2 separate regions of the Homo sapiens genome follow, and region 2 is linked to region 1. Evidence: promoter capture Hi-C in 16 types of primary human blood cells and fetal thymus (Javierre and others, 2016). All regions are on one chromosome and are shown on one strand. The core of a region is centred on a gene start or on the middle of the fragment in contact, and the rest is flanking DNA. Distances in the headings are between cores, read along the strand shown.

Region 1 (5,807 bases), core at 2,388-4,887:
TAGAGGGATCTCTCATTAGCAGCTTTTCTCTGTTTGTGTTGAAATGTGGTTAATGCTCATACTTCTCACTCCTTATCTCTCTAGAAAGGGGAAGTTTAATAGAGCTATAATTTAGTAGTGTGGGGTGTAACCTGCTGTTAATATCTGCCAGGTCACTGGAAGATCTTCTTCATTATATTCTTAGCATTTTGTGACAACTTTTGAACAGGTTCTTTAAATAAATGTGTATTCCCAGATGCTTTAGGGATTGAGATATCCTTTTCACACAATGCTAAAAAGAAAGATTCTCTAAATTCCAAAGGGCATTCATTCTCCCCTTAATTCTCCTCTCCTCTCCTTTTGGTTTTCTTTTCACTCAATAGTTAGACCAGTGCACCTTTCACAAGAATACACTCAAGTTTCAAGATCTGTACCTTCTTTAACTTATGTACATGTATGTTTATAGGGGTCTGGTTGAAGAGAAGGAGGTCAAGGCAGAAACACCTAGCTCCCAGAGGGTTACTTGGAGGACCAGAGGTTTTAGGAAATACGGTGTGTCTCAATCTGTCTGCAAGTTTCCATACCAAAGTGAGTAACCATGGATAAGGAGTAAATTGCTGTTTCTAACTTTTAACTTACAAATAAGCACTCAACATTACACTTTTCAGGAGACTTAGGGTTGGTTTTGTTGACGTGACCCATCTGTTAGTTAAAAACATGTTTTAAGGAGTTTTTTATTTTAACTCATAGTATAGCTTTTAGAATTATGACTAGCAAATTACTGTGGGTTTTTAAATATGGGGCAAACCTGAAATCATTTTCATCATTAGAACCAAGCTGTTCTTTTCTGCTAAAGAAGGAGGGCTAAGAAGAAGGGCATAGTAGAGATGGATCTTATACTCTCATTGATTAAAAAACAACAAACAAATAAAAAGACAAGAGCAGACATGGATTTTTGCTCTTCCCCATCCCCTCATGTTCACATAAATGAGGGTTGGGAGAAGTTGCGTTTCGTAACAGAGCTCCTAATCTTGCTTTTCTCCTAGGGCACTTCTGTGATTCCTCCAGCTTCTCTTTCAAGTCCCTTTTCACCCCAATCCTCTTCTCCTTGATTTTTATTTCATAAATAGGAATAAAGTGGCATATGTTTTCTGATCATGAAAAGGATATCATTTTATAATTTTGACAGTAGTAGAACATCTAAAATGCACATTTCTGTAGGATCAGCAAGCCCTCAAAATCAGTAGAGCTCCCTTCTTGTGTCTCTAGTGAAAGCGGCAGCTTCTCATCTTATCTTTTCTGAGAAACATTAAGAAGTCCTCCCAAGTCTGCCTCAATGGCATTGGTTGGGTATAGTCATGGACTTGATCAAGAGGCAGCTATATAATGGCAAAAAGAGGAGACTCACGTGAAGTATCCACATCCCATGCAGAAGGGGAGATTTGGGGGCGACTACATGAAACTTCGACACTGATTTTTCTAAAAGCTTAAGAAGAGCAGTGTCATCTTGCTTGGTATGTACCCTATGGAGAAAGGATAGCTTTGCTCCTGGGAAACTTAGATCATGAGCAATCTAAGATGATCTCACTCAGTTATTTAGGGGCTTGAACTTGATGGGACATAGGGAAGGCAGTTACTGTTTAACGGTCCATAGCTGGTCCGGTGGATTAATTGCCAGAGAAAGCAGAAGTAAACCCTTGGAGAATACTTTTATCCCCAAACTTAGGAATAACTGGAAGCTCATTTAAACTGGGAGCATTTCCCCCTCCACCCCAAGAAAAGATAACTTCCCTCAAGGGGATCTGGTGAATGAAGCAGCGTATTTTCATCCTTGTGATAATGGGTGTGAGTCAGGCACTACCATAAAAGAAGAATTAACTTGAATGTGCCACATACTTGGTCTGGCCTTGTCCCATACCTGTACTCTTGTCATGGTTGATTACCTATGTGCATCAGATATAAAGCAAGCAGTCTGCATTGTGGCATGAGATAAAAGGTATGTTAATATGCTCAGGTCACATACTATCTTGGCCAATAGTAATTTTATATAATTTGCTTAAAGGAAACTGCACTTCTTGCAATATTTTTTTCCAATGAAGAAAAATTTAACGTGACAGAAGCTTTATATATAACTCTTGCATTTGAGTAACAGCATTGAATCCTCTCCATCTCAAGCAGAACTTTTAAATATTTTTATTACTTTTGATATGCAAAAGCTAAGGAGAAATGGTTTGGAAGACCTAAGTTAAATTTCTAATGAGTCTTGTTTCTTTAATAGGGGAGAATTTCATACAGCTTCGGTGAGTTTTTTCTTTCCACATGAGATAATATAAACAAACAAAAAAATAAAAAAGTGAAACATTTCTCTTCTTACTTTAAGAACCTTAAGGGCTAAAAGAGTGGTTTGGTTTCCTGACTGGTACTTTTGGTTTGCCTTCTCTAAGTGGTCTTGAGCAATTCCCCAGAGGAAACATTTGAAGAGGGTTTTTCTCCCACTTGAGAGAGTTTCATCCCACACAACCCACAGAATTTGATGGCAAACTTCATGGACCAAGTGTCTGGTTTTACAGAAGTGGCTGTGGAGTATGTTTTTCCTTTCACAGGTGCACATTTATTCTACCTTAGGAATAAGAAGAGATCATTTTCTTTTAAAGAGGGTAGCTTAAACACTGAATATCTCTGATAATTGGATGCCAGTCAGGTAGGTTGTGATTTACTAAATGCGGGGGAAAAAAGGTGGAAAGAAGGATTAAAACTTCCAAAGCCTTTCTCGCTGATCTTTCTTTACAACCATCTGGTGTGCACAGAAGTATTGTATAATCTGGCCTGTATTATTCTCTTACTGTGAAACATATTGAAACACTTTATGTTTAGGTGTGTGTACAGAAATTCATGAAGTTCTTTTATACACTTTCTTAGTTCCATCGTAATTCTCATTTTAGGATGTCGTGAAAAGATAGCCTGGTGAGAGAGCACATTCTACCCTGGCTTGTGAATTTGGATTTGTTCCTTCCTATCTACCAGCCACCTGATTACTTACTGTCCCCGTGCAAAGGGCACCCGTTCACATCATTTTTTTCCAAGCGCTAAAACCTGGAAAGATATTTTTTTAAAGGACTCACAGAAGCTGTCTTGGGGGTTTGGAAAACATCACAAAATTGTTAGCAGACCTTTTGACTGTGCTATTTTTAGGAAGTTAACTGTGTTCTTTTAAAGTACATTTTTGACAATGGGACAACGTTTTCCTTGCCCCCACTGATGTGTGAAATATGTACAGTGAAAAACGTCAGTACAACACCCCAAACAGATACATTTTAACCTAAGCAACAGTCAGCAACAGGAGAAAAAGTGATTTAAAAAGAGAAAGGTTTCGCAATATTTATGCTGCTGTTTCTTCCCTGAAGGAGCTTTTATTTTACCATTCAAACAGAAGTTTGTTTTCAAACCAGTTGCTAGTTAAAGGAGCAGCGGATCGCGCATCCGTAAGAATCAGCTCTAACCAAACAGCAAACGCGTTGGCCAGAGGGTGACTTATTCCCCCATAGCAACCCCTGGTAGGTGAGCTGCCTGCAGAAGTGCTGTCTTACCTTGAGCACGTAAGATCAGGGAGAGAGGCTCGCTGGCTCCCACGGAGAGGATCGGGGAAGGGCTGTGATCCGCTGCTGGTAACATGCACTTGGCTTTTATGGGCAGGTGGGAGGAGCTGCTCCTCATAGTAGGTGGGCAGGGAAGGAGCGGCGGGCGGGCAGCCTCTGGAGGAGCTGGACACTCTTCTCTGGGGAGGGGCGGGCAGAGACTGGAGCCCGCAAGGCGGAGGAGAGACGACGGGGCGGGGGGAGGGGGAGCGCGGTCACAACGGAGGAAGGAGTGGAAAAGGGAGAGAGAGGGAGAAGGGAAAAAAGAGAGGGAACTAGAAATAGTGAAAGGGATCTTGACCACAGATGGGGAAAGGTGGGGGAGAAAATGAATAGCAGAGACAGAGAGAGAGAGAGTGTCTGGGAGGAAAGGGGAATCGGAGTATTTTCCGTTTTTGCATGACATTTTTTGGCAGAGGGAGTTGTGGGTGATTGTGACTTTTGAAGGTGTTTTCTGTGAATTTGGGAATTTGAAAAGCTACATAGCGGTCCGGGAGAACTGAAGGGTTTCTAAGCGAGGCAAGGGAGGTGAAGCTGGGCGTCCGGGCAGCAGAGCCAAAGTTCAGGGTGGACCCGGACCTGGAGCTGGAGGCACTGACATGGCCTGGAGCCAGGCAGCCCCCAGCCCTCAGCCCCGTCCCACCGCCCGCGGGTGAAAATCGCCCCATCCCTCTCCCTCCAGGCAAGGCTTATTTGACAAGGAAGTTCCTGCGCTGCCTGTCCTCTGAGCATCCAGAGGCCCCTTTTGAGACTTCGGCAGCATTAAAGTAAATCCAGCAACGGGGAGGATTCGCGTGGACTTGCTTGTGGAGACAGGAACCTCAGAACCAGCCTGGGTCTTCCAGCATCTGCTTATGTAACGTAGGATTTCAGAGCTCTCTGCCCTCTGGTTATTTTCGGTATTTAAAACACTCTCATTCCTAACAATCGGAAAACGTCTTGGTGCCACAGTTCTTTCTCAGTGTGTCTTAAACATTAAGAGAGGATTCAACCAACAAGTGGCTAAAGGATCAGTCTGAAATTACTAAGAAATGCATTCAGAGAAAGAAAAACAAGCTCCTTTCGCTGCTGAGTGGTGACTCACTTCCTAGCCCAAGCCTGATTTTTGCCACCAAAGGAATTAAAGCATTTTAAAAGAGAACCTGAGACTTGGGGTGGGAGATACAGTACCGGGAGGGGGAAAAGGCGGGAATGGGAGGGGGGAGGGATGGGTAGGCTGGAAATAATAAAGGAACGAACTTGTACTGAATATGTATATATGTACTTCATTCAGTGTTCACCGCAACCTTATGAGGTAGGTATGATTCATATTGTGCAGATTTATTTATTTTTTTTTTAATTTAAAGAAAGGCATCTCTAAGGGTTTAAATAACTAGCTCAAGCTAGCGAGAGGGGGAGCCACAGCTAGCGAGCTTGCAAACCTTAGGCACTCTTCAGTACACCAGGCTGCCGTATAGAACACCTAGGTTCGTCTCAGGTTAGATCCTGATGTCATTGGCTGGTAGCAGGCTCCAAGAGAAGGAAACTTGATGGTGAAGAGCAGAATTACTCAAACTTAGCACTACTGAAACTTTCGGGAGAATATTTCTCTGTTGTAGGGACCTCTCCTGTGCACTGTAGAATGTTAAGCAGTGTCCGTGGCCTCTACCCACCAGATGCCAGTAGCAGTACCCACTCCGCACTCGCCACCCAGCTGTGAAAATAAAAAATGTCTCTAGATTTAGCCAAATGTCGCTGAGGGACAAAATCCCCTCCTCTTCTTAAGAACTATTCGTCTAAAAAAGGCCCACAACTATAAAAAAGCATTTTAAAAGAATCTATTAAGAAAATACCCAGTAGTGCCATTTGGATAATAATAATACCTACGTCCATATGTGCCGAGTTTACACAGCACTTAGGTTTTTACATACGTATTTCCATCTGTTAGCTTCAAGAGCTCAAAGCCTCAATTACTTCCTTTGTAACTAAGCTTATTCTCAATTGGTTACGTCTGGGAGTCAACGAAATAAACTCCCATGTGCCCGGGATATGAGGCAAGAACAATCATATATGAAATAAAAAATTTAAAATTTTTATCGTAAACACAAATTTGACACCAGAGTTTTCAAATTTACTCACGATGTTTTGCATTATTGATTATTCGCCTTTTTATAATTTTTTATCTCTATGTTCCCTATTCAAATTATATTCAAT
Region 2 (5,574 bases), core at 1,690-4,189, 650 kb after region 1:
GAATCATTCCATTGAGTCATTGTAGGATAATACAAGTATATATAGCTTCTGATAAATACATCATAGATTCCAATAAGAAACCTGATTCCAAGCCCCTACTATACATGGATGGAACTGCCCTTTGTTCACCAAAATGGTAAGTTGCAATAAATGGCACCCATTATTATTCCACAGACTCAAATTTTGGCCAAAGACAGAGCTGGGATGGATGCTTAGACAGGAGGCACAGTGTATTAGTTCATTCTCACACTGCTATAAAGAAATACCTGAGACTGAGTAATTTATTACGAAAAGAGGTTTAATTGGCTCATGGGTCTGCAGGCAATACACGAAGCATAGTGGCTTCTGCTTCTGGCGAAGCCTCAGGAAGCTTCCAATCACAGCAGAAGGCAAAAGGACAGCAAGGTGTCTAGCAAGGGGGGAACAGTGGCAGGGTCAGGAGGGAGGAGCAACACACTTTTAAACAACCAGCTCTCTGAGAACTCTATCACAAGAACAACACCAAGGAGATGGTGCTAAACCATTTATGAAGGGTCTGCCCCCATGATTCAATCACCTCCCACCAGGCCCCACCTCTAATGTTGAGGATTACATTTCGACATGAGATTTGGGCAGGGACATAGATTCAAACCATATCACACAGCTTCACTCCCTGGTCACATTCTGTATTAAGAGCGCATTTGTAAAGAAAATATGTTAGCATGACAGTTAACACCATGATGAGAGGCATCAGAAGACAGTAAGTGAAGGCAGAACTCTAAATAAAGTAGAAGACGAAGTCAAATTGTTGGGTTTGCATTTTTGGGGTGGTGGGCATTGTTTGGTTATGTTTATTGTTGTCATTAGAAGCTTGCTGCCCATCCATCCACCAGTAAATGAAGGCTGTGATTTCCCTCCCATCCCTTCAGCCAAGGCTCCTAGGGAACCACATTATAACCCTGCCTCCAAAGTGTCTTGCCTAAAGTCTCACAACTACTATGTGTCAAAACAGGATTCGAACCCAATTGCCCTTGGCTTCAATATTCTCAGATTGACCTTCAGGTCTGTTACATAAACCCCCAATGTGTGGCTAGCCTGGAAAACACAATGTAAACCCCACTACAGTCCCTTATCTGAAATTCCAGATCCAAAATGTTCTGAAAACTGCAAGGTTTTCCTAAGTTTGTGGTAAATGCATTTGGTGGTAAATCTGACCTGAACTGACAGAAAGATATTTACAGTCTTTTTTTTTAATTGTTTTTTTTTTATTTTATTATTATACTTTAAGTTTTAGGGTACATGTGCACAATGTGCAGGTTAGTTACATATGTATACATGTGCCATGCTGGTGTGCTGCACCCATTAACTCGTCATTTAGCATTAGGTATATCTCCTAATGCTATCCCTCCCCCCTCCCCCCACCCCACAACAGTCCCCAGAGTGTGATGTTCCGCTTCCTGTGGCCATGTGTTCTCATTGTTCAATTCCCACCTATGAGTGAGAATATGCGGTGTTTGGTTTTTTGTTCTTGCGATAGTTTACTGAGAATGATGATTTCCAGTTTCATCCATGTCCCTACAAAGGACATGAACTCATCATTTTTATGGCTGCATAGTATTCCATGGTGTATATGTGCCACATTTTCTTAATCTAGTCTATCATTGTTGGACATTTGGGTTAGTTCCAAGTCTTTGCTATTGTGAATAGTGCCACAATAAACATACATGTGCATGTGTCTTTATAGCAGCATGATTTATAGTCCTTTGGGTATATATCCAGTAATGGGATGGCTGGGTCAAATGGTATTTCTAGTTCTAGATCCCTGAGGAATCGCCACACTGACTTCTACAATGGTTGAACTAGTTTACAGTCCCACCAACAGTGTAAAAGTGTTCCTATTTCTCCACATCCTCTTCAGCACCTGTTGTTTCCTGACTTTTTAATGATTGCCATTCTAACTGGTGTGAGATGGTATCTCATTGTGCTTTTAATTTGCATTTCTCTGATGGCCAGTGATGGTGAGCATTTTTTCATGTCAAGTACTCCACTTAGTGTCAATATTCAAACATTTTCCTAGAGAAGCATTAATGTGTTTGAATACTGTCCTCAGACCTTGCTGTGGGTATACATATATTTTATTTATTTGTTTTCTTTTTCCTTTCTTTTTATTCACTTTTTGTGGGGGGTGGGGAGGCAGATTCCTGGTGAAAACTGGAAAATGTACTAGACAAATTCTAAAAGATCTGTAACACTGTGGGTATATATTGAGACAGTATGTAAACAACAGGGCAGTCACACAGGGCCCTACACTTAACAATGACCCTGCACTTGGCTAAAAGCTCTGCTGTGGCATCATGAAATCCTTAATAATTTTTTAACAAGATGCCTTGCTTTCCCCACCCCCACCACAGAGCCCTGTAAATTATGTAGCTAGTCCTGAGTATAAGCACTACAGTACAGTAGTATAAGCACTACTCATAATATCCTCATGGTATCTAATATATCTACTACTATATAATACTATAATATTATAGTACTGTATAATATTATAATACTATAATATTATACTACTATATAATAAGTATACAGTAGTATACAGTAGTATAAGCACCACTCATAACTTTTCTGATTTTTCTAAAATCAGAGAAGTTACGAGCTCTGAAACACATCTGACCCTAGGGCTTTGGCTAAGGGACCTATGTTACTACACTACCAGTATTAATTCTATTGTTACTAACACCATGGATTGAGTGCCTCCTGTAGGCAAATGATTTCCTAAGGACTTTACAGGTGTTAGCTATAACCCTGTGAGGTACATATTATGTTATTCATTTTTTTTAATTTAGTAAAGTGAGGTTCTGAAAGTTACCCTAAAGTTTTAAGATCACCCAGCTAGTAAATGGCAGAGTTGGAATTCAAACTAAGGTCTGCCTGATTCTAGAACTTGTTTAATATTCTAGGAGGTAGGTGCTTTGGAAGTATTAGGATGAACCATGAAATTGCCAATATCCAATCATTTTACATAGAAAAATGGCGATTTCATGTGGCTCAACTTAATATGAATGACTACTTATAAAATATAATCTCCCTCTATTTCATTTATGGGTGTTTTTTAGTTTGAAACGATGACCAAACTAATCCTTTTGCTAAAATGTAAATAAAAGATTGCAGTGAAGTCAGAAGAAAAATTTATGTAGTTCAATTTAAAACAAGTTGCATGTCTCATCCTGTCTCACTAGAGATGACATCACTGCTCCTAAATAGGGAGGATGGATCACATGGGAGAACTTGTTTTTATTGTGATCAGCTGCAGGCGATCAGCAATATGACCTCATCTGCAGCTGAGGGGATTTGACCTTTGCCCCTTTAGGTATGTGAAGCAGAAAAAAATCCTTCACAGGCTGAGGAATGCAAAGCAGACAAGCATCTTCAGCCAGCAGAGTTTATCAAGCATGTGTTCAGTGCAAATGCTCAGACTTGGACATGATGCAAAAGCAATTAAGAGAAAGAACAGTGAGTAGCCTGGGAGTTGGGTGGGTCCCTTGGTGTTTCTCAGTAATACTAGAAAAATATGTTTTTCATTTTCGAATAATAAAAGATAAGAAAGGGGCCTTTAAAAAAAAATGCTTCTTGTGCTAAGTTACCATAAGCAGATGATAGAATTTAAGTTCTTATCATAACCAGTTTCCTGTGAGAATATCTTAGATGTAATCAAGTCAGATCTAACAACTGATCAATTTAACTGGCTAGTTTTAAAAACAAACTCTAAGTAAAACATGCTCTTCAGCTGTATTTTTAAATTGATGCAGTGAAAGTGACAGTTGGACAATAAAAGCCCAGGTTATCCACTCACAAATGTCTAGGAATGTGTGGAAAATTAACGAGATAAGTTGCTTATTGTGTATTCTTTCCTCGTCCTGTTTATATCTACTTAACTCCCAGACCGAAAAGCTCACAGTGTTACAGATTTCCTTCTGTTCAAAAACTCCTTATTAACCAGAAATTGCTTAATATTTTAGGGCTTTGACATGTATTATTTGATGTAGCACTCATGGGCACCATGATGAGGAGCTCTTAAATCAGCTTAAGAAAGGTGAACTACTAAGATCAAAAGAGTGTTCCTTTTTCCTGGTGAGTAATTGTTAATGAATATCTTCCAAATCAAACACCTTGCAAGAAGCAGAGTTTTTGTATTTTACTAGCAACAAATTGGAGAGATGGAAGCCCTCCAAAAGAGTTCTAGAATGCTGAAATATGAAACGTAAAAAAAATTTCATCCAGGTTAAAAAGGCAGTTTATTATTCTAATTTTCAGCTGCACAGTTACCCAACTTAAGCCAAGTCTTTTCACACTTCCTGAGTGATTTTTATCTTACCTACTGCTTCCCACTTCCCAAGTGGGAAGAAATCTCATTCCCTCCAACTGAGAATCTGAGAAGACCAATTGCTTTAAAAAATGTAAGAAAAATGGCTGATGATTTAGGCAGTTAGTAGTATAATTATTTCTTCTATTTTTATTGTTTTTGTGATACTAGAAGTAGTCATTTTCATGTTTATCCAATATCTTTGAGGTCCAAAGTGAGGTGTCAAATTTCACAAAAACTTTATATTTCAGCAATATTTTTGGTGGGTAGATTTTCAAAAAGTTTTGCTTGGTTATCACTCAGTGCACTCAGAAAAATAGTCATTTACAAAAGTAAACATCAAGAGATAGTGAAAAACTTGATGAAAGAAAAAGTATTATATCCTAATGTCTACCACTAGGTGAATGGATAAATAAATTGGGGTTTATCCATACAACAGAATTCTACTGAGTATCAAAATAACTGAACTATTGATACACTCAACAACAGGAATACATCTTGAAATAATTATACTGAGTGAAAAAAATTCCCTAAGACATTTTGTGTGACTCTTCCAGTTTATAAAATTCTTTTAAAATGCAAACTAATCTTTAGTGACAGAAAGCAAATGAGTGGTTGCTTGAGAACAAGGAGAAGAGGCAGGGAGGGACAAGTGGAAGGTATTACAAAGGGGCAAATGAAGCTTTTGCAGGTGATGAATATGTTCTTTATCTTCATTGCAGGTAATGAATATGTTTGTTATCTTCATTGTGGTGAAGTTTTTTAAGTGTATACATATATCCAAACATATTAAATTTTATACTTTGTGCAATTTAGTTTATTTCAGTTATATTGCAATACAGTTTTCAAATCTTTAAATAAAATTAGGCATGAAAAAAAGGTATTGTAATTTGCCTTAAGTCACAGGTCTAGGTCACGGAGGAACAAGGACTTGTAATTAGCTGTCTGAAACTAAAGTCAGCAAGGAGGAAGAAAAGATCATTCTTCCAAATGATAGGTTTGCCAGTTAGAGAGGACTCCTTGACTAAGGAGGTTGCCTACTGATTATGTGAAAGTCAAGAATGTTCCAAGAGGGAAGTCCTTTAGAGGAGTGTTACTAGTTTGGATGATTTAATGTGAGGGCCAGTCTTACATTTTGACCAGTTTTCTTTGCAGGGCATCTAAAAACATGATGACCTTGATTAATCAGAGAAAAATAAATATGATTTCATATTTATTTTGAAACTGGCTTT

The links. Contacts are between HindIII fragments. The CHiCAGO score rates a contact against its expected background, and 5 or more counts as called.
Region 2: a fragment that was not itself captured here is called in contact with the fragment with the promoter of COL8A1 in region 1 in 2 of 17 cell types (total CD4 T cells and M2 macrophages); the score reaches 6.4 in total CD4 T cells.

The regions. Positions count from the first base shown.
Region 1 is chr3:99,636,424-99,642,230 of GRCh38, reverse strand. COL8A1 (collagen type VIII alpha 1 chain) reads right to left here and starts at 3,637. Exons shown (of 4, transcript NM_020351.4): 1 at 3,567-3,637. It overlaps LOC124909401 (a long non-coding RNA gene), which reads left to right and starts at 3,551. Exons shown (of 2, transcript XR_007095981.1): 1 at 3,551-3,644; 2 at 4,297-4,863. The HindIII fragment of the contact is 3,484 bases long and covers 2,102-5,585 here.
Region 2 is chr3:98,984,046-98,989,619 of GRCh38, reverse strand. The region is part of intron 2 of LINC00973 (long intergenic non-protein coding RNA 973); the gene reads right to left. LOC124906343 (U7 small nuclear RNA) reads right to left here and starts at 2,233; the gene lies at 2,171-2,233. The HindIII fragment of the contact is 4,175 bases long and covers 852-5,026 here.